Regions from separate parts of the Homo sapiens genome. Here regions 1, 2, 3, 4 and 5 are each linked to region 6. The links are contacts of gene promoters, found by promoter capture Hi-C in human tissues and cell types (Jung and others, 2019). All regions are on one chromosome and are shown on one strand. Each heading gives the region's core, a stretch centred on a gene start or on the middle of the fragment in contact. The rest is flanking DNA. Distances are from core to core; before and after follow the strand shown.

Evidence for each region. Contacts are between HindIII fragments. The study calls those that stand out against the background at their distance.
Region 1: a contact is called between a fragment that was not itself captured here and the fragment with the promoter of ASL in region 6, in 1 of the 25 tissues and cell types used here (aorta).
Region 2: a contact is called between a fragment that was not itself captured here and the fragment with the promoter of ASL in region 6, in 3 of the 25 tissues and cell types used here (heart left ventricle, hippocampus and mesenchymal stem cells).
Region 3: a fragment that was not itself captured here is called in contact with the fragment with the promoter of ASL in region 6 in 1 of the 25 tissues and cell types used here (pancreas).
Region 4: a fragment that was not itself captured here is called in contact with the fragment with the promoter of ASL in region 6 in 1 of the 25 tissues and cell types used here (dorsolateral prefrontal cortex).
Region 5: a contact is called between a fragment that was not itself captured here and the fragment with the promoter of ASL in region 6, in 1 of the 25 tissues and cell types used here (mesenchymal stem cells).

What each region holds. Positions count from the first base shown.
Region 1 is chr7:66,764,864-66,768,041 of GRCh38, forward strand. All of the region lies in intron 1 of RABGEF1 (RAB guanine nucleotide exchange factor 1), which reads left to right. Among named protein-coding and RNA genes, the nearest start is that of RABGEF1, 26 kb to the left of the region's middle. The HindIII fragment of the contact is 4,344 bases long and covers 1-3,178 here.
Region 2 is chr7:66,786,317-66,789,218 of GRCh38, forward strand. All of the region lies in intron 4 of RABGEF1 (RAB guanine nucleotide exchange factor 1), which reads left to right. Among named protein-coding and RNA genes, the nearest start is that of RABGEF1, 47 kb to the left of the region's middle. The HindIII fragment of the contact is 4,062 bases long and covers 1-2,902 here.
Region 3 is chr7:66,985,177-66,988,316 of GRCh38, forward strand. SBDS (SBDS ribosome maturation factor) reads right to left here. Exons shown (of 5, transcript NM_016038.4): 5 at 2,504-3,140. Among named protein-coding and RNA genes, the nearest start is that of SBDS, 8.8 kb to the right of the region's middle. The HindIII fragment of the contact is 6,084 bases long and covers 1-3,140 here.
Region 4 is chr7:66,650,217-66,653,307 of GRCh38, forward strand. No RefSeq gene overlaps it. Among named protein-coding and RNA genes, the nearest start is that of KCTD7, 23 kb to the left of the region's middle. The HindIII fragment of the contact is 3,311 bases long and covers 1-3,091 here.
Region 5 is chr7:67,002,321-67,005,523 of GRCh38, forward strand. The region is part of intron 3 of TYW1 (tRNA-yW synthesizing protein 1 homolog); the gene reads left to right. Among named protein-coding and RNA genes, the nearest start is that of TYW1, 7.1 kb to the left of the region's middle. The HindIII fragment of the contact is 3,526 bases long and covers 1-3,203 here.
Region 6 is chr7:66,074,461-66,077,254 of GRCh38, forward strand. It overlaps ASL (argininosuccinate lyase), which reads left to right and starts at 1,359. Exons shown (of 17, transcript NM_000048.4): 1 at 1,359-1,396; 2 at 1,579-1,633. The coding sequence starts at 1,622. RefSeq lists a silencer at 1,000-1,529 and an enhancer at 1,630-1,909. The HindIII fragment of the contact is 4,995 bases long and covers 1-2,043 here.

The DNA.
Region 1 (3,178 bases), core at 651-3,150, 690 kb after region 6:
CTTTGTAGTAAGTTTTGAAATTAGGAAATGTCAGTTTTCTTACATTCTTTTTCAGTATTGTTTTGGCCATTCTGGGCCCTTGTTATCTTCTGCATTTTAGAGTTCATGTGCTTTCATTGGGCCCATCTAGATATCTAGCATAGTCTCCTTATTTTAATGATTAGTCAACTTAATTATATCTGCAAAGTCCTTTTTGCAGTGTAAGGTGACATAATCACAGGTGTAGCACCAGAGAGTGAAGGTCATGGGTGCACAGGTCCTATGAGGCTTAGTTGGGTGAAAAGGTGGAGAATGATAGGAGCAGAGAGGTTGGAGAGGGATATAGGAAAGGGAGTTTCAGAAATATTACATAGTTTGCCTAAAGTTACATTTCCAGTACGTGGCAGAGCTGGGGTTGGAGTGCAGATAGGACTGATCTCTGTGATTTCATGGTCCACACCAAATCAGTCTTCTTAGACTCAGAGCTATTGTTATTGTTTCTGTCTAATACATAGTGAGCTTTTATTGTATGCCAAGTAATCCACAGAGCACTCCTTTATGTTTTTCTAGCTCTTAAAGAGCATCTGTACAAGTCTTTTGGCATAGATAATAGGCTCTACTGGAACCAGCTTAAGAAAAAACGACAAAAGTAGTTAGGGGACCAGGGTGTATGACTCAGAATCTGAGGATGGGCGTGCACGTAAACCTTAGCCAGGGATTGGAACTGGGAGATTGAAATCATTCAGGACGTACAGGACCTTCTACTTTTCTCTGCTTCTTGGGGTATGTCTATTTCATTCTGTAGACTGTCCTGATACTCAGACCACTTGATAGAAGGATCATGTCACACAGCTCCATCATTCAAGAGAACAGCCCCGACTTAGTCCCATTTCCAAAACTCGAAGCAAAAGACTCTAACACAGTTGGAGGCAATCAGCTGTGATCCTGAATTGGGGGACCATTCACCTTATACAAATATAGCTGCTGCCAGCTTATCTTTGTGGATTGAGAGGACAGTTTCCTGATAACATGGGAGGTTATGTGCTAGGCAGACTTCCCAAACTATGTTCATTTTAGTAACATTGAGTAGTACTATCATACTTATAGTACAAAATTTAAAAAAACTTAATTGATCTATACTTAAAAATAGGTATCTTCCTTTTGCCCATTTCTCTTGGAAGGGAAGAAAAGGGACATCAGGATGATAATGGCAAGATTAGCTCAGACTTTCAAAATAATTTGAAACCCAGGACTTGGCATACTAAGTATAGGCTTACTTGAGCTCAGGAGTTCAAGACCACCTGGGTAACGTGGCGAAACACCGCCTCTACAAAAAAATAACAACAATTAGCCAGGCATGGTGGCTGAGTGGTGGAGTATTGCTTGAGCTCGGGAAGTCAAGGCTGCAGTGAGCTGTGATCACGCCACTGCACTCTAGCCTGAATGACAGACCCTGTCTTCCAAAAAAAAAAAAAAAGGAAGCTTAGTGCTTAGTGATGTCTCTGCCACTTACTACCTTTTTGATGGAATAAGTCATGATTTCTTAATGTTAGTATCTTTATCTCTTACTATAGGATGTAGTAGATGGTCTTTAAAAACATTCTAGGACTCTATTCTTTTCTTTTTTTCTACTTGTTATTTTCTTGCTTTCTACCTCAGCCTTATCTACTATTTATAAATGGCTGGTGTCTTAGATCTAAATCCTGACCTTGGAGGGCTTTAACCTTGTAGAGGAAGTAAACAGTAAACTTGAGAGTTTTTTCTAATTAGATTTCCCTCTCTCTGTCAAGTCTCATTAAATAACTATTAAAGATCTGATCTCTAAGGTAGATTACCACCCGTCGTCTTTCCATTCCCACTGTTACCTCTTATTTATTTATTTATTTATTTATTTATTTTCGAGACAGGGTTTCACTCTGTTGCGCAGGCTGGAGTGCAGTGGTGCGATCTCGGCTTACTGCAGCCTCTGCCTCCCAGGTCCAAGCGATTCTTGTGCCTCAGCCTCCTGAGTACCTGGGATTACAGGCAAGCGCCACCATGCCTGGCTACCCACTGTGTTACCTCAAGTCCTCTAATTGTAGTTGTCTCTTGGTCAGTATCTGTGTCTTCTGTTCTGTACTTCTCCCTAATCCAACCTGGAAATTGCCTGTCAAGTTTCTTTTTTTTTTTTTTTTTTTTGAGATGGCGTCTCCCTCTGTTGCCCAGGCTGGAGTGCAATGGCATGATCTTGGCTCACTGCAACCTCCATCTCCCCGGTTCATGCGATTCTTGTGTCTCAGCCTCCCAAGTAGCTGGGATTACAGACGTCTGCCACCATGCTCAGCTAATTTTTGTATGTTTAATAGAGACGAGGTTTTGCCATGTTGGCCAGGCTGGTCTCAAACTCCTGCCCTCAGGTGATCCACCCGCCTCAGCCTCCCAAAGTGCTGGGATTATAGGTGTGAGCCACTGTGCCCAGCCGAGGTTTTTTTTTTGTTTAAATCATAGAGTAAAATTGATCTGGGAGGAGTATAATGGTCTGCGAATTTTTAAATTTTATTAGATTTATGTAAACACCTCCACAATCAGAATACAGAACAGTTTCATCACCCCAAAAAACTTTCTCGTGCTAATCCTTTATAGTCACATTCTTTCCTACCCCTAGTTCCTAAATGGAATCATATAGTATGTAAACTTTTAAGATGGCTGCTATGGTCTGAATCTTTGTCTGTCCCCCAAATTCATATGTTGAAATTCTAAACCACAAGGTGTTGCTACTAGGAGGTGGAGCCTTTGGGAGGTGATTAGTTCATGAAAGTGGAGACCTCATGACTGGGGCTTGTAAGTGCCCTTATAAGAGACTGCAGAGAGCCTAGCCTGTCTCCCCCTCCCACCATGTGAGGACACAGGGAGAAGGTATCTTCATTGAACCACCAGACACCAACATCTGTTGACTTCCTGATCTTGAACTTGCCAGCTTCCTGCACTGTGAGAAATAAATTTCTGTTTTTTATAACCTACCCAGTTTATGGTATTTTGTTACTGCAGCCAGAAGGAACTAAGATGCTGGCTTCTATCAGCATAAAGCCTTTGAGATTCATCAAAGTTGTTGGGTGTACTGATACCTGTTGTTGTTGTTTTCCTGAGTAGCATTCTGTTGTATGGGTGCACCATAGTTTGTTTATTCATTCACCCATTGAAGGATATTTTAGTTGTCATT
Region 2 (2,902 bases), core at 205-2,704, 710 kb after region 6:
CAGCACCTACGTAATTTTCATACCCACTGCAGTATGGCAGTATAATGCTTTACTATGCAACACACTTCTCTTTCTTTCCTTTCCTTTCCTTTTCTTTCTTTTTTTGAAGCAGTGTGTTGCTCTATCTCCTGGACTGGAGCACAATAGCGCAGTTGCTGCTCACTGCAGACTTGACCTCCCAGACTCAAGTGATCCTCCTGCCTTAGTCTCCTGAGTAGCTGGGACTAGTGGCACACACCACCATGTCTGGCTGAGTTTTTTATTTTTTGTAGAGACAGGGTTTCCCTATGTTGCCCAGGCTGGTCTTGAATTCCTGACCTCAGGTGATCTTCCCAACTTGGCCTCCCAAAGAGCTGGGATTATAGGTGTGAGCCACCGCGCCCAGTGCTATTCAGCAAATGTTGTTTGCTAATATTTTTCTGAAGCTTGTTTATTTTGCTCTTTTTTCTTTCTTGCTAGTCTTACTAGCCACTTAATGTTAAAACATGTATACTCTTACAGTACTTCTATACATTCTTTAAAACAAGATATTTCCATTGCAAATGAGACGGGCAGCTATGTCATTAACACAAAATCCTTTTATGTTGAAAATATAGTTGCCATCAGCTACTTTTCTGTTCTTACAAATCATCATAGCAAGAATTTAAATTGCTGAGCCAAATTAATAAAGCTTAATTTTTAAAACCTAATCTGTACAACATAACTTGAATTATTATTATTTCTTTTTGAGATAGGAGTCTTGCTCTGTTGGCCAGGCTGGAGTGCAGTGGTGTGATCTCTGCTCATTGCAGCCTTTACCTTCCAGGTTCCAGTGATCGTCCTCCCTCAGCCTCTCGAGTAGCTGGGATTACATGCATGTGCCACCATGCCCAGATAATTTTTACTTTTTTTTTTTTTTGTAGACACAGGATTTCACTATGTTGGCCAAGCTAGTCTTGAACTCCTGACCTCAAGTGGTCTGCCCGCCTTGGCCTCCCAAAATCTTGGGGTTACAGAAGTGAGCCACCATGCCTGGCCTGATTTTTTTTTTTTTTTTTTTTTTTTTAAGATAGAGTCTTGCTCTGTTGCCCAGGCTGTAGTGCAGTGGCGTGATTTCGGCTCACCCCAACCTCTGCCTCCCAGGTTCAAGCAATTTTTATGCCCCAGCCTCCCGCATAGCTGAGATTACAGGTGTGCACCACCATGCCGAGCTAATTTTTTGTATGTTTAGTAGAGATGGGGTGTTACTCTGTTAGCCAGGCTGGTCATGAACTCCTAGCCTCACATGATCCGCCCACCTTGGCCTCCCAATGTGCCGGGATTACAGGATTGAGCCACAATACCTGGCCTAACTTGAATTTAAGAATCTCACCTTAACCAAGCTTCACACAGGTCTGAGAGTGATTATGGATTCAGGAGTATATATAGTCACTTATGAAGAGGTATACATTCTCTTTGTCATCTGGACAGAGCTTCATGTGGTGAGGGCAATTTTAAGGCACTGTATAGACCCAATCAAGTGTTAACCTTTCCCATAATAACTAGAAAACCATATTACCTAACTGAATGAGATCTGTGGCTTTGTAAATAACTTTTTTCTGTAAATTATTTATATGAAAACGCTCACTGTAAGACACATGTTTAGACTGCAATTAAATAAAAGTAAATAAAACTTCTGGAAAAACTCTTTTGCTGCTCAAACTATTTAAATCCTGCCCTTGCTAAGTGTTAATAAATCCCTCAGATACATTTTTTCCCTATTCTGAAAGTGTAGCTTGTCCTGCTTTTAAAGGGGGCAGGCTCTACTTCCTCAAAGTACCTACCCTTTAATTTGTTGGGTATTGCAGTAGTGCTTTTTAATAAACTTGGGGCTGGGCGAGGTTGCTCACACCTGTAATCCCAGCACTTTGGGAGGCTGAGGTGGGTGGATCACGAGGTCAGGATTTCGAGACCAGCCTGGCCAATATGGTGAAACCCTGTCTCTACTAAAAATACAAAAATTAGCTGGGCATGGTGGCGCTCGCCTGTAGTCCCAGCTACTCGGGAGGCTGAGGGAGAAGAATCACTTGAACCCAAAAGGTGGGGTTGCAGTGAGCTGAGATCATGCCACTGCACTCCAGCCTGGGCAACAGAGCAAGACTCCATCTCAAAAAAAAACAAAAAACAAAACAAAACAAAACACCCCTCATTTTTTGGGTTTCTCAATTCAGTTATTTTTATTTTTTTAATTTGTATTAGTCCCTTAATACTCCATTCATGGCAATCAATTCAGTTTCTAAAAGACTTCTTAATAGTCATTCTGATAAGCTCTTCTTTCTAAGGAAGCAGTTAAGCACAACATAACACCTTTTGCTTGTTTCATTGTTATTTTTCTAGCCAGTCCTATAAAAATCTGATACTGAGCTGGGCACAGTGGCTCACGCTTGTAATCCTAGCACTTTGGGAAGCCAATGCGGGTGGATCACCTGGCCAACATAGTGAAATCCCGTCTCTACTAAAAATACAAAAAATTAGCTGGGCGTGGTGGCGGGTGCCTGTAATCCCAGCTACTAGGGAGGCTGAGGCAGGAGAATCACTTGAACCTGGGAGGCCAAGGTTGCAGTTAGCCAAGGTCGCGCCATTGTACTCCAGCCTGGGCAACAAGAGCAAAAAAACTCTGTCTCAAAAAAAAATAATAATAATAATCTGATACTGATTATATTATATGGACTTAAAGCTTTGTACCTGAATGAGGACAAAAAAATACACAGTTTAAGACATGGTTATATCTTCAGTCCCATGTTCTTTCCCAGAACAAGTAGAAAGATAAGTGTCCTCCTATACCTTAAAATGACTCTATTGTTGTAAACTATATATTTAATCAAGGAGTAGTTTGCCCTGCCACGTAATTTACTGTCAGAAGAACAGAAGTATGTACCCAAAA
Region 3 (3,140 bases), core at 222-2,721, 910 kb after region 6:
TGGGACTACAGACACGTGCCACCACTCCCGGCTAATTTTTTGTATTTTTAGTAGAGACGGGGTTTCACCGTGTTAGCCAGGATGGTCTCCATCTCCTGACATCGTGATCCGGCAGCCTTGGCCTCCCCAAGTGTTGAGATTACAGGTGTAAGCCAGTATCTGATAGTTTTATGTTTACATTTAGTTCTGATATAAAATATATTTTTTTTGAGATGGAGTTTTGCTCTTGTCACCCAGGCTGGAGTGTAGTGGCAGAATCTTGGCTCACTGCAACCTCTGCCTCCTAGGTTCAAGAGATTCTCTAGCCTCAGCCTCTTGAGCAGCTGGGATTACAGGCGGCCGCCACCATGCCCAGCTAATTTCTTTTTTTTTTTGAGTCAGCGTCTCGCTCTGTCACCCAGGCTGGAGTGCAGTGGCTCACTGCAACCTCTGCCTACCAGGTTCAAGTGATTCTCCTGCCTCAGCCTCCTGAGTAGCTGGGACTAGAGGCATGCGCCACCGTGCCCAGCTAATTTTTGTATTTTTAGTAGAGACAGGGTTTCAGCATGTTGGCCAGGATGGTCTCGATCTCTTGACCTCGTGATCTGCCTGCCTTGGCCTCCCAAAGTCTTGGTATTACAGGCGTGAGCAACCACAGCCAGCTAATTTTTGTATTTTTAATAGAGACTGGGTTTCGTCATTTTGGCCAGGCTGGTCTTGAACTCCTGACCTCAGGTGATCTGCCCACCTGGGCCTCCCAAAGTGCTGGGATTACAGGCATGAGCCACTGTGCCTGGTCCACGTGTTTATTATTTCAGACATTTACTCCACATCTGCTAGGTCCAAAGCATGGTGGGATATACACACACATTGCTAAGTCCCTTGCCCTTAAGGAGCTCACAGTCTAGCCTGAAGGCAGATAATTAAGCAGCTCTAATACAAGTTTGAATAAATCCAGACCCATGAAGGAATTTAAGTAGAGTACTGGCTTCCAGCAACTGGAGCAAATACTTGTGTATGGGGTACAAGGGAAGCTTCAGAGAAAAGAACTGTGGTAAAAGAAGAGGCCTAAGTCTGAAATGTCATTGTGACCAAATGCACACACCATCAGCTTGCATTGAAAAAGTCAAACCAATCCTTAAAATAATCCATTATGGCTGTGGTACTGGGAAGATGATCATGAACCAAAAAATGTTAAGTTCTTTGATAATGAAATTAGTATAAAATTAAAAAAATAAGTTTAGATGATGACTCAGATGTGATCCACATTTGACATTTCTTGAAGTTCCAGCTTTTTAGAAAAAATGAATATTCAGAATCAGAAAATCTTTGTTTTGAGATGGGGTCTGGCTCTGTTGTCCAGGCTGGAGTGCAGTGGGGTGATTTTAGCTCACTGCAACCTCCGCCTCCCGGGCTCAAGTGATCCTCCTGCCTCAGCCTCCCAAGTAGTTGGGAAAACAGGTGCACACCACCATGCCTAATTTTTTGTATTTTTGTAGAGACGGGGTTTCACTGTGTTGCCCAGGCTGGTCTCAAACTCCCAAGCTCAAGTGATTCACCCGCCTTGGCCTCCCAAAGTGCTGGGATTACCGGTGGGAGCCACTGCGCCTGGCCCCAGAAAATCTTAAGGAAATGTTCTATTAAATGTTTATATTTTTTTACTAAGATAGAACTATTGATATATTGAACAAATAGCTGTATCAAAACAGCAGCCTAGCTTTAGCATTAACAGAAAAAGTGTTCATTCCCATGTTATCAATGTATTTTGTTAACAATATAAGAAAAAATTTTGACTTTATAACCTCAATGTTAGTTATTTTAAACTAAAGGGACATTTCTGAGAGCTTGTATTAGCAGGGAGTTGTGTGTGCTTATAAACCAATCAGTACCTTTTCAAGTCAAGAAGCCTGTCTTCAGTTAAAAACTGCTGTCCAGAAATACATCTGTATGTTTATTTTGAGTGAATTTAATTTATATTCTAGAATGTATCTTTTGAAATAGATTTTTTTTCTTTTTTTTGGAGACCGAGTTTCACTCTGTCACCTAGACTGGAGTGCAGTGGCACATTCTCAGCTCATTGCAACCTCTGCCTCCTGGGTTCAAGTGATTCTCCTGCTTCAGCCTCCCGAGTAGCTGGGACTACAGGCGTGCACCACCATGCCTGGCTAATTTTTGTATTTTTAGTAGAGACAGGGTTTCACCATGTGGGTCAGGCTGGTCTCAAACTCCTGACCTCAGGTGATCCGCCTGCCTCGGCCTCCCAAAGTGTTGGGATTGCAGGTGTGAGTCACCTCCCCTGGCCTTGAAGTAGATTTTTAAAAGCTTGCATCTTGTCCATTTAAGTGTTTAAATACTAAAATAATTCTTCCCAATTACATCCCAAGTGTTAGCAAAAATTTTTCAGGTGTTTACAAGTACAGGCCCTGTTCTAAGCACTCTTCATATGGACTTATTCAGTTCTCCTGACAACTCCCTAACCCTACCACAGACACAGGCAGAGAAAAGAAAGGGAGTTAGGAAGTTGTCTAGAAACACAAGCCATAGTTTAATAAACATAAGAGTGGTTTTATTGATTACATACAATTTTAGCTATATTAATATATATTATAAACTTTAAGAATTAGAAATAAGTGACTTTTATTTTTTAACCAAGAATAATCTAAGTTATGGCAGCATGTTCAATGAAAGGTAAGTCCGGCACAATTTTTCTATATCTGTTTCTCAGATAATCAGGAACATCATCCAAGCTTTACATTACGATACCATAATGACCCTCAGAACACAAGTTCCATTAAGTAGAAATGAAGCATCATATGTTTTCTTTTTTAGGAAAGACCCCCCCTTTTGTTGTATAGACATACCCCTAATAATCTTACTCTACTGTACAAATAACTTTTCACCCACAAGAGCTGCCTCAAGTAACTTTCATTTTGGAAAGCTATCAAGGCATGAGACAGAGTAGCAAAATGCCACTCTGGACTTTGCATCTTGGAGTTTCAATTTTGCTTTAGGATTTAGACCCCAGTTTATAATTAAAACCAAATCATTCCCACATTATTATACTTATGTAGGAAAGCCTTGCTGTGTCCACTGTTAACACAAAGATAGAAAATGTCAAATAGTTTAAGCAAGTATTTGGCAGACCACAGACATGAAACAGT
Region 4 (3,091 bases), core at 345-2,844, 580 kb after region 6:
CAAGTGCCCACAAACTATTGGATTTGAGGAGCAACCTGGAGGTCAGTGGGTGACCAAAATGAGGAAGGGAATGGCTGGACCACACCACTGTTGGCTAGAAATGGCCGAGGAGTAATTGTGAACTTTATAGTGAACTTGAGTCCAAGCTGCTATTTAACTGTCCAAAAAATGAACAAGCATCATGAGCTGAAATAGAATGTAAAGAAAAATAAGAGGCAGAAATCAGACTTTTATTTCTTCTAGTTTAGGCTCCAAAGCTTGAGAGAAGTAATACAGAGGGCTTGATTTTTAGAAAACCTTAGAAATGATTAAATAGGTCAGGCGCGGTGGCTCCGGCCTGTAATCCCAGCACTTTGGGAGGCTGAGGTGGGCGGATCAAGAGGTCAGGAGTTCAAGAGCAGCCTGGCCAACATGGTGAAACTCCATCTTTACTAAAAATACAAAAATTAGCCGGGCATGGTGGCACATGCCTGTAATCCCAGCTACTCGGGAGGCTGACGCAGGAGAATCGCTTGAACCCAGGAGGCAGAGCCTGCACAACTGCATTCCAGCCTGGTGATACAGCAAGACTCCATCTCCAAAAAAAAAAAATAATAATAATAATAATAATGCTTAAATAGATATGATCATATTCAGAGCTAAATTTAACCAGAATCTAACATTGTTTTCCAGATGAAGAGTTTGAGAAAGCCGACTAACTAGCCCAGTTGAGTCCCTAGGCTAGTGGGTAGCAGAGTGGGGACGTGTCTGTGTCCCGAGCCTCGGCATGTCCCTGTGCTGAAGCCCAGGGCCTGGTTCTGCACTGTCAGGTTACCCAGATCCAGTTACAGAAAAGAAGCCAAAACAACTTGCGGAAAATAAGTCTACAGAAAAGATAAATAATAGTACTCTAATGAATGAACAGACTTGTGACATCTCTTCCCTGGGGACAGAACAGGAGGATACAGGTTTATATCCCAGCAATAGGGATTCTACATTACAAGGAAAGTTTCTAACTGGGAGATATGAGATGAGCTACACAAGAAGAAGCCAAAACATTTGCACTCGTGCTGCCTTTTTATTTTTTTGAGATGGGAGTTTCACTCTTGTCACCCAGGCTGGAGTGCAATGGCGCAATCTCAGCTCACCGCAACCTCTGCCTCCCGTGTTCAAGCGATTCTCCTCTCTCAGCCTCCTGAATAGCTGGGATTACAGGTGTGCACTACCATGCCCAGCTAATTTTTGTATTTTTAGTAGAGATGGGGTTTCACCATTTGGCCAGAGCTGGTCTCGAACTCCTGACCTCAGGTGATCCATCCACCTCGGCCTCCCAAAGTGCTGGGATTACAGGCATGAGCCACCCGCCCTGGTGCTGGATTTTTGCTTAGTCCTATCATTTTCTGAGTCCCGAGAGTTTTCATATTTGGATGAGTGACCAGTCTCAAAGTCATTTAAGTCCTGCCTAACCTCCAGGACTGTCTGGCATCTTCCTTCTCTTCTTCCTTCCCAGGTGGCTTCACCCTCACAGTCCCTTATGGTGTCAACTTGGTGCCATCTTACCAGGTTCTCCCTAGGCTCCCAAACCCTCGCTCCTGCCTGCTTATTCTATATCACCATGTTATTTATTTTTTAAGTAACTATGATTATGTTATAGGCTTAATTGTGATCCCCACCAAATTTATATGTTGAAGTCCTAACTCCAATACCTCAGAATGTGACTGTATTTAGGAATAGGGTCTCTAAAGAGGTGAGTTAAGATGATGCCATTAGGGTGGGCCCTAGTCCAATTCGACTGGTGACTTTATAAAAAGAGGAAATTTGGACACACACACAGACACCAAGAATGCATGTTCACAGAGAAAAGGCCATGTGAGGACACAGTGAAAAGGTGACCATTTATAAGCCAAGGAGAGAGGCCTCAGGAGAAACCAAACCTGCCAATTCTGTGATCTGATTTTGGATTTCTTTTGGTTTTTCATGCCTGAGTTTTGTATTTTTTGTAGAGACGGGGTTTTGCCATGTTGGCCAGGCCAGTCTGGAACTCCTGACCTCAGGTGATCCATCTGCCTTGGCCTTCCAAGGTGCTGAGATTACGGGTGTGAGCCACTGCGCCCAGCCCTTAACTTGGATTTCTAGACTCCATAACCAAGAGAAATAAATTTCTGTTGTTTAAGCACCACCCCCCCACCCAAAAAAAAAGAGAAGAAGAATATAGGCCATGAGCGGTGGCATGTGCCTGCAGTCCAAGCTACTCAGGCAGTTGAGGTGGTAGGATCACCTGAGCCCAGGAGAGATTGGTAGAATGATTTAATGAAAAGGTGGATGACAGAGCCTTGGGAAATGTAAAAAAAATAAGTAAAATAAAATACAACATGATCCATCCATATACTGTCTATAAGAGACTCACTTTAGATACAAAGAAACAAAGAGATTGAAAACAAAAGAATGAAAAAATAAATTCCATGCAAAAAGTAACCAAATGAGGCTGGGCTTGGTGGCTCATGCCTGGGATGCTGAGACAGGTGGATCACCTGAGGTCAGGAGTTTGAGACCAGCCTGACAACATGGAGGAACCCCGTCTGTACTAAAAATACAAAATTGGCGGGGCGCAGTGGCTCACGCCTGTAATCCCACCACTTTGGGAGGCCGAGGCGGGCGGATCACAAGGTCAGGAGATCGAGACCATCCTGGCTAACACGGTGAAACCCCGTCTCTACTAAAAATACAAAAATTAGCCAGGCGTGGTGGCGGGCACCTGTAATCCTAACACTTTGGGACGCCAAGGGGGGCGGATCAGTTGAGGTCAGAATTCGAAACCAGCCTGGCCATCACGGTGAAACCCTGTCTCGATTAAAAATACAAGAAAATTAGCTGGGCGTGGTGGTGGGCGCCTGCAATTCCAGCTACTTGGGAGGCTGAGGTGGGAGAATCCCTTCAACCTAGGAGGCAATGATCCGAGATCGCACCACTGCACTCTAGTATGGGCCACAAAGCGAGACTCCCCCACCAAAAAAAGACAAAAATTAGGCAACCTGTCCAAAAACACAGCAGCGATAATTAGCAAAGCTGGGATTCCAACCCAGGCCTATCTCACAGCCACAGCATAGTATTT
Region 5 (3,203 bases), core at 462-2,961, 930 kb after region 6:
CTATGCCCAGCCCATCTCAATATTGGGCTAGGATTACAGGTGTGAGCCACTGTGCCCAGCCCATCTCAATATTTCTTCATTCTGCTGTTGGATTTGATTGATTCATATTTGGTCGTGTGTAGAAGACTATTAAAAACTTTTGCCTCAGAAGGCGTAGCTTCATTGTCTTCCAGCATGTTAGTATTGCTAATGAGAAAGCGAATTTGTAGATGACTTGATTATTTTGTTTCTGGAAGATTTTCGGATCATTTCTTTGTCCTTGATTTCTGGAAATTTTATGGGAAGGTGACTATTTGGATCTTTTTCAGCTATTGTTCTGTATACTTGAATTTTTTTTGTTTTGACGATTTGTATGCATTTTGACGATTTGTGTGCATTAGTTCTGTTAATATTTCTTGGATGAATTTTTTTTTCCCCTTTTCATTTCTTTTTTTCTGGGATTCCTGTGGGATGTTCTACCTTTTGGATCGTCTTCTGTGTCTCAGATCTTTTCTCTTATATTTTTTGTAACTTTTTCTTTTTCTTTTTCTTTTTTCTTTTTTTTTTTTTTTGAGACAGGGTCTTACTCTGTCACCCAGGCTGGAGTGCAGTGGCATTGGCCTCCCAAAGTGCTGGGATTTTTGTATTTTTAGTGGAGACGGGGTTTCTGCATGTTGGCCAGGCTGGTCTCAAACTCCTAGCCTCAAGTGATTCACCCGCCTCGGCCACTGAAAGTGTTAGGATTACAGGCTTGAGCCACGCGCCTGGCCCTAAATTTCTGTTTCTAATCTTAACTGTTTCTCTCAACTCCAGACTTTCATATCGAGTTACCTATCTTAGAGCATCATATGAATGTCTAGTAAGCATCTTAACATCAGTGTGCTCAAAACTGAACTCCCAATTTTCTGCCCAAGCCTGCTCTACTTGTAATCCTTACAATTTCAGTAAATGACAACTTTATCCTTCCAATTGCTTGGTCCAAAACACCTTTTGACTTCTTTTTATACAACCCATGTCCAGTCTGTCAGCAGATTCTGTTTGTTCTACTTTAAGAATAGATTCAGTTTCCAATCACTTCTTACCACCTTCACTGCTACTCCCCTGGTCCATGCCATTGTCAACCTAAATACCATAGAGAGGCTCTCCAAAAGAAAAGATGTTTGTTTGGGAATAGCACGTACATTGCAATGGGGATACAATTGCCATAGTAAACTGCATGTATTCAGGGAAGTAAAGGAAGGCAAAGATTTGTAAGGGAAAAAATGAGGATTACAGAATTGTTTTGAAATAATTATTCTTGCCTACAAAGGTTAATAACAAAGGTGACACAATCCAAGGTTGGACATGAAGTTGCTGGGCAGATGTCCTTGCAGTAGTATTTTTTGTGTAAGGTTGCACTGGTCTTTGTGCAAGGTTGTATTTTTTGTAGAATCTTTCTCATTGTCAGGAATTTGAGTGTGAGGCCAGGTGTGGTGGCTCATGCCTGTAATCCCAGCAGTTTAGGAGGCTGAGGCAGGTGGGTCACTTGAGGTCAGGAGTTTGAGATTAGCCTGGCCAACATGGCAAAACCCCATTTGTACTAAAAAATACAAAAATTAGCCTGGTGTGGTGGCACATGCCTGTAATCCCAGCTACACGGGAGGCTAAGGCATGAGAATCACTTGAACCCGGGAGGCAGAGGTTGCAGTGAGCCAAGATGGCGCCACTGCACTCCAGTCTGGGGGACAGAGTGAAACCTTGTCTCAAAAAAAACAAAAAACAAAAAACAAAAAAAACAATCTAAGTGTGCGAATTCTTTGTCTTCCCTAGCTCTTATTGTCAGGGATATTTTAACATAAGTAACTCCATGTTGTTGATTCTGACAGCTTTGACACTGCCATGATATTTTGTCTGGATTAGGACAGTCATCTCACCATTGATTTCTGCTATAATTTGTTGTTTGTTCCCCCAAAACTGATGTTGAAATTTGATCCCTCGTGTTGGTGATGGGCCTAATGGGAGGTGTTTGGGTCCTGGGGGCAGATCCCTCCTGAATAGATGAATCCCTGGGGGAGGGGTGAGTGAGTTCTTGCTGTCTTAGTTCCCAAGAGAGCTTGTTGGTAAGAAGAGCCTGGAACCTCTCCTGCACTCTTGTTTCCTCTCTTGCTATGTGATCTTTGTGCTCGCCAGCTCCCTTTCACTTCTACTCTGCCAGGAGTAGAAGCAGCCTGGAGCCCTCACCAGATGTAGTTGTCCAATCTTGAACTTTTTCAGATATCAGAATTGTGAACCAAATAAACCTTTTTATGGTGGCCCATAACAATTTTTCCTTTACATAGTTAGCACTTCCTTAAGGACCTCTTGTAAGGCAGGTCTGGTTGTAATAAATTCCCTTAGCATTTGTTTGCCTGAAAGGATCTTGTTTCTCCTTCGCTTATGAAGCTTAATTTGGCTGGATATGAAATTCTTGGTTGAAATTTCTTGTTTTCTTTTTTGAGACAGAGTCTTTCTCTGTCACCCAGGCTGGAGTGCAGTGGTGCGATCTCAGCTCACTGCAACCTTTGCCTCCCGAGTTCAAGTGATTCTCCTGCCTCAGCCTCCCGAGTAGCTGGGACTACAGGTGTGCGCCACCACATCTGGCTGATTTTTGCATTTTTAGTAGAGATGGGGTTTCACCATGTTGGTCAGGCTGGTCTCCAACTCCTGACCTCAGGTGATCCACCCATCTTGGCCTCCCAAAGTGCTGGGATTACAGATGTGAGCCACCATGCCCTGCTTGAAATTTCTTTTCTTTAAGAATGCTCAATATAGGCCCCAATCTCTTCTGGATTGTAGGGTTTCTGCTGAAAGGTCCACTGTTACCCTGATGGGATTCCCTATGTAGCTGACCTGCCCCTTCTCTCTAGCTGCCTTTAACATTTTTTCTTTCATTTCGACTGGAGAATCTGATGATTTTGTGTCTTGGGGATGGCCATCTTACGTAATATCTCACTGGGGTTCTCTGCATTAAATAAACCTTTTTAAAACATAGATTGGGCTAGGCACAGTGGCTCACGCCTATAATCCCAGCACTTTGGGAGGCCAAGGCAGGTGGATCACTTGAGACCAGGAGTTTGAGACCAACCTGTGCAACATGGCAAAACTCTATCTCTACAAAAAATTCAAAAATTAGCCAGGCATGGTGGCATGTGCCTGTAGTCCTAGCTACTTGGGCGGCTGAGGTGGGACGATTGCTTGAGCCCAGG
Region 6 (2,794 bases), core at 109-2,608:
GCCGTCTCAGCTCACTGCAGCCTCCACCTCCCTGGTTCAAGTGATTCTCCTGCCTCAGCTGTCGGAGTAGCTGGGACTACAGGCACCCACCACCACACCCGGCTAATAGAGACAAGGTTTCACCATGTCAGCCAGGCTCATCTCGAATTCCTGACCTCAGGTGATCCGCCCGCCTCAGCCTCTCAAAGTGCTGGGATTAAAGGCGTAAGCCACTGTGCCCGGCTGCGTTTCTTTTTTCTTTTCTTTTCTTTCTTTCTTTCTTTCTTTCTTTTTTTTTTTTTTTTTTTTTTTGAGACAGAATCTTGCTCTGTCACCCAGGCTGGAGTGCAATGGCACCATCTCAGCTCACTGCAATCTCCGCCTCCCGGGTTCAAGAGATTCTCCTGCCTCAGCCTCCGGAGTCGCTGGGATTGCAGGCACCCGCCACCGTGCCCGGCTAATTTTTGTATTCTTAGTAGAGACGGGGTTTCACCACCTTGGCCAGGCTGGTCTCAAACTCCTGACCTCGTGATCCACCCGCCTCGGCCTTCCAAAGTGCTGGGATTACAGGCGTGAGCCACCGCGCCCGGCCTCCGGCCGCGTTTCTTTTCTTTTTTAGAGGAGTCAGGCTGGAGTGCCGTGGCACAATAGCTCACTGCAGCTTCGAACTCCTGGGCTCAAGTGCTCCTCCCGCCTCAGCCTCCTGAGTAGCTAGGACTGCAGGCGTGCACCACCACGCCCGGCTTTTTTTTTATTATTATTAATTTTTTTGTAGAGACGGGATCTTGTTGTATTGCCCAGGCTGGTCTCCAACTCGTAGCCTCAAGCGATCCTCCCACCTCGGCCTCCCAAAGTGCTGGGATTACAGCTGTGAGCCACCGCGCCTGGCACAGGCTTCATTTCTGATGGTCCTTCCTTTTTCCTTGATGCCTTTCTCTGTACCTGGCACATAGAGGTGCCTGGTACGTGTTTGTTGAATGAATGAATGAATGAGTGAATGAGCGAACATGCCATTTCACCTTATATATCTTGTGAACCTGCCAGGCCCGGGCCTGATGTCATAGCCTCTACCCCTGGCCCGAGTCTCCAGTCCCCTGCGTGTCTGCTGACCACAGCACGAACGCCAGCGCACTACCCTCCTCAACCCCAGCCCAGGCCCCTTCCCCGTCGGGGTCCCCCCAACCCTTTCCCCGCCCGCTTCCCCGCCCCGGGGCCGCTTAGCCTCCAGCTCAGCGGGAGGTATCCCCGCCCACGGCCAGGATTGGAGGATGGAGGCAACGCCCACCCCGCCGGGCGGCCTCCTATTGGCGCGGCCGTCGCCAGGGGTGGGGACAGGACCGGCGGCTGCTGACGCCATCCCGGCCAGAAAAGCCCTGGCCAGTGGCGGGCGCGACACTATCCGTGCGGCCAGGCGGAGGTGAGTGCGCGGCGGCCGGATGGGCGGGACGGGCGTGGAGGACGCCGAGCACCGTGGCGCGCGCTCACGTCCGCGTCCCCAAGGGCTGCGCTCCCTCAAGCGCAGTGCCCAGAACTCGGAGCCAGCCCGGCCCGGGGGACCCTGCTGGCCAAGGAGGTCGTCAGTCCGGTCTTGTCTTCCAGACCCGGAGGACCGAAGCTTCCGGACGACGAGGAACCGCCCAACATGGCCTCGGAGGTGAGTGGGACCTCGGGGACTCCGGTCCTCCTAGCCTCCAAAGGAGAGAGTGGGGGCGCCAGACCTGCCTCGGGCCACCCTGCTGGGAATCGCCCTCCAGGAAGCAATTTTGAAAATTACCTAGGAAGCCTGCACCCCCAGCCCTCCCGGGCGCATCATCTGGAGCCCAGCAGTCACCTTTACCAGGACTCACCAGTATCCGCAGGCAGCCCTTGTGGCAAACCCACCAACCCACACTACTAGGGGTAGAGTGGCTCTGCCCTCACCTCACAGTGATGCCTGCCTGGCCAGGAAAAGTGGCTCCCAAGCCTTCAGCCTTCCAACTCTTCCTTCCTTCTTACCACGTGTCCTCCTGTCAGGTCCCACCCCACACCACATCCCTTCTCCTGCTAGAGCAATTGTCCCTGTTTATAGAATAAAGCTCAGCCCCTAAGTGTTCTTGTCCTTGACTGTGGCATGTGGAAAGAGCCAGGAAAAAGGGGACGTCGCCTCGTGGCTCCAGCAACCCTGGTGCCTGGTCCCTTCCTGTCTCACTGGACCCTGCCTCTTAGGGTCAGTGGCTCCTGGCCTCTCCTCCTGACCACTGAGATGCTGGATTCCCAGGCAGAGGTTTTCCTTCCTTGGGCCATAGTTGATTTATCTGGCAATGGGGGTAATAATAGCTGTCGGCCTCACTCTGTAAGGCACTAGATTATGAGGCCATTGCTTTGGACCCTTCAGGTGAGAGGGGCTGTTCGCCTGATGCTTGATGAAGGGAACTCCGGGAAGCAGGAGGTCTGGGTTCCAGGCCCTTTTGGCCTTCATTAGCTAGCAATTCACTTCCTCTTTCTCAATGCCCTGCAAGCTCAGTGCCCTGCAAGCTTCTGGGTCATGGCAGGGGGGTAGGGCCTGGACTTTGGAGCCAAACAGACTTGGTTTCTGTACCAGTCACTTGAGCCCTTTAAACCTCTTTCCTCATTTGTGAAATAGGGGTAATATTGCCCACCTCATAAAAGGCCGTAATAACATATGTGAAATCCCTAGCACAGGGCTGAGCAACAGTAGGTGCTCAATAAATGGTGGCTAACCACAACAATACTGATATTTCTACTTTGGGAGGCCGAGGCGGGAGGACTGCTGAAGCCCAGGAATTCCAGACCAGCCAGGGCAATGTAATGAGAC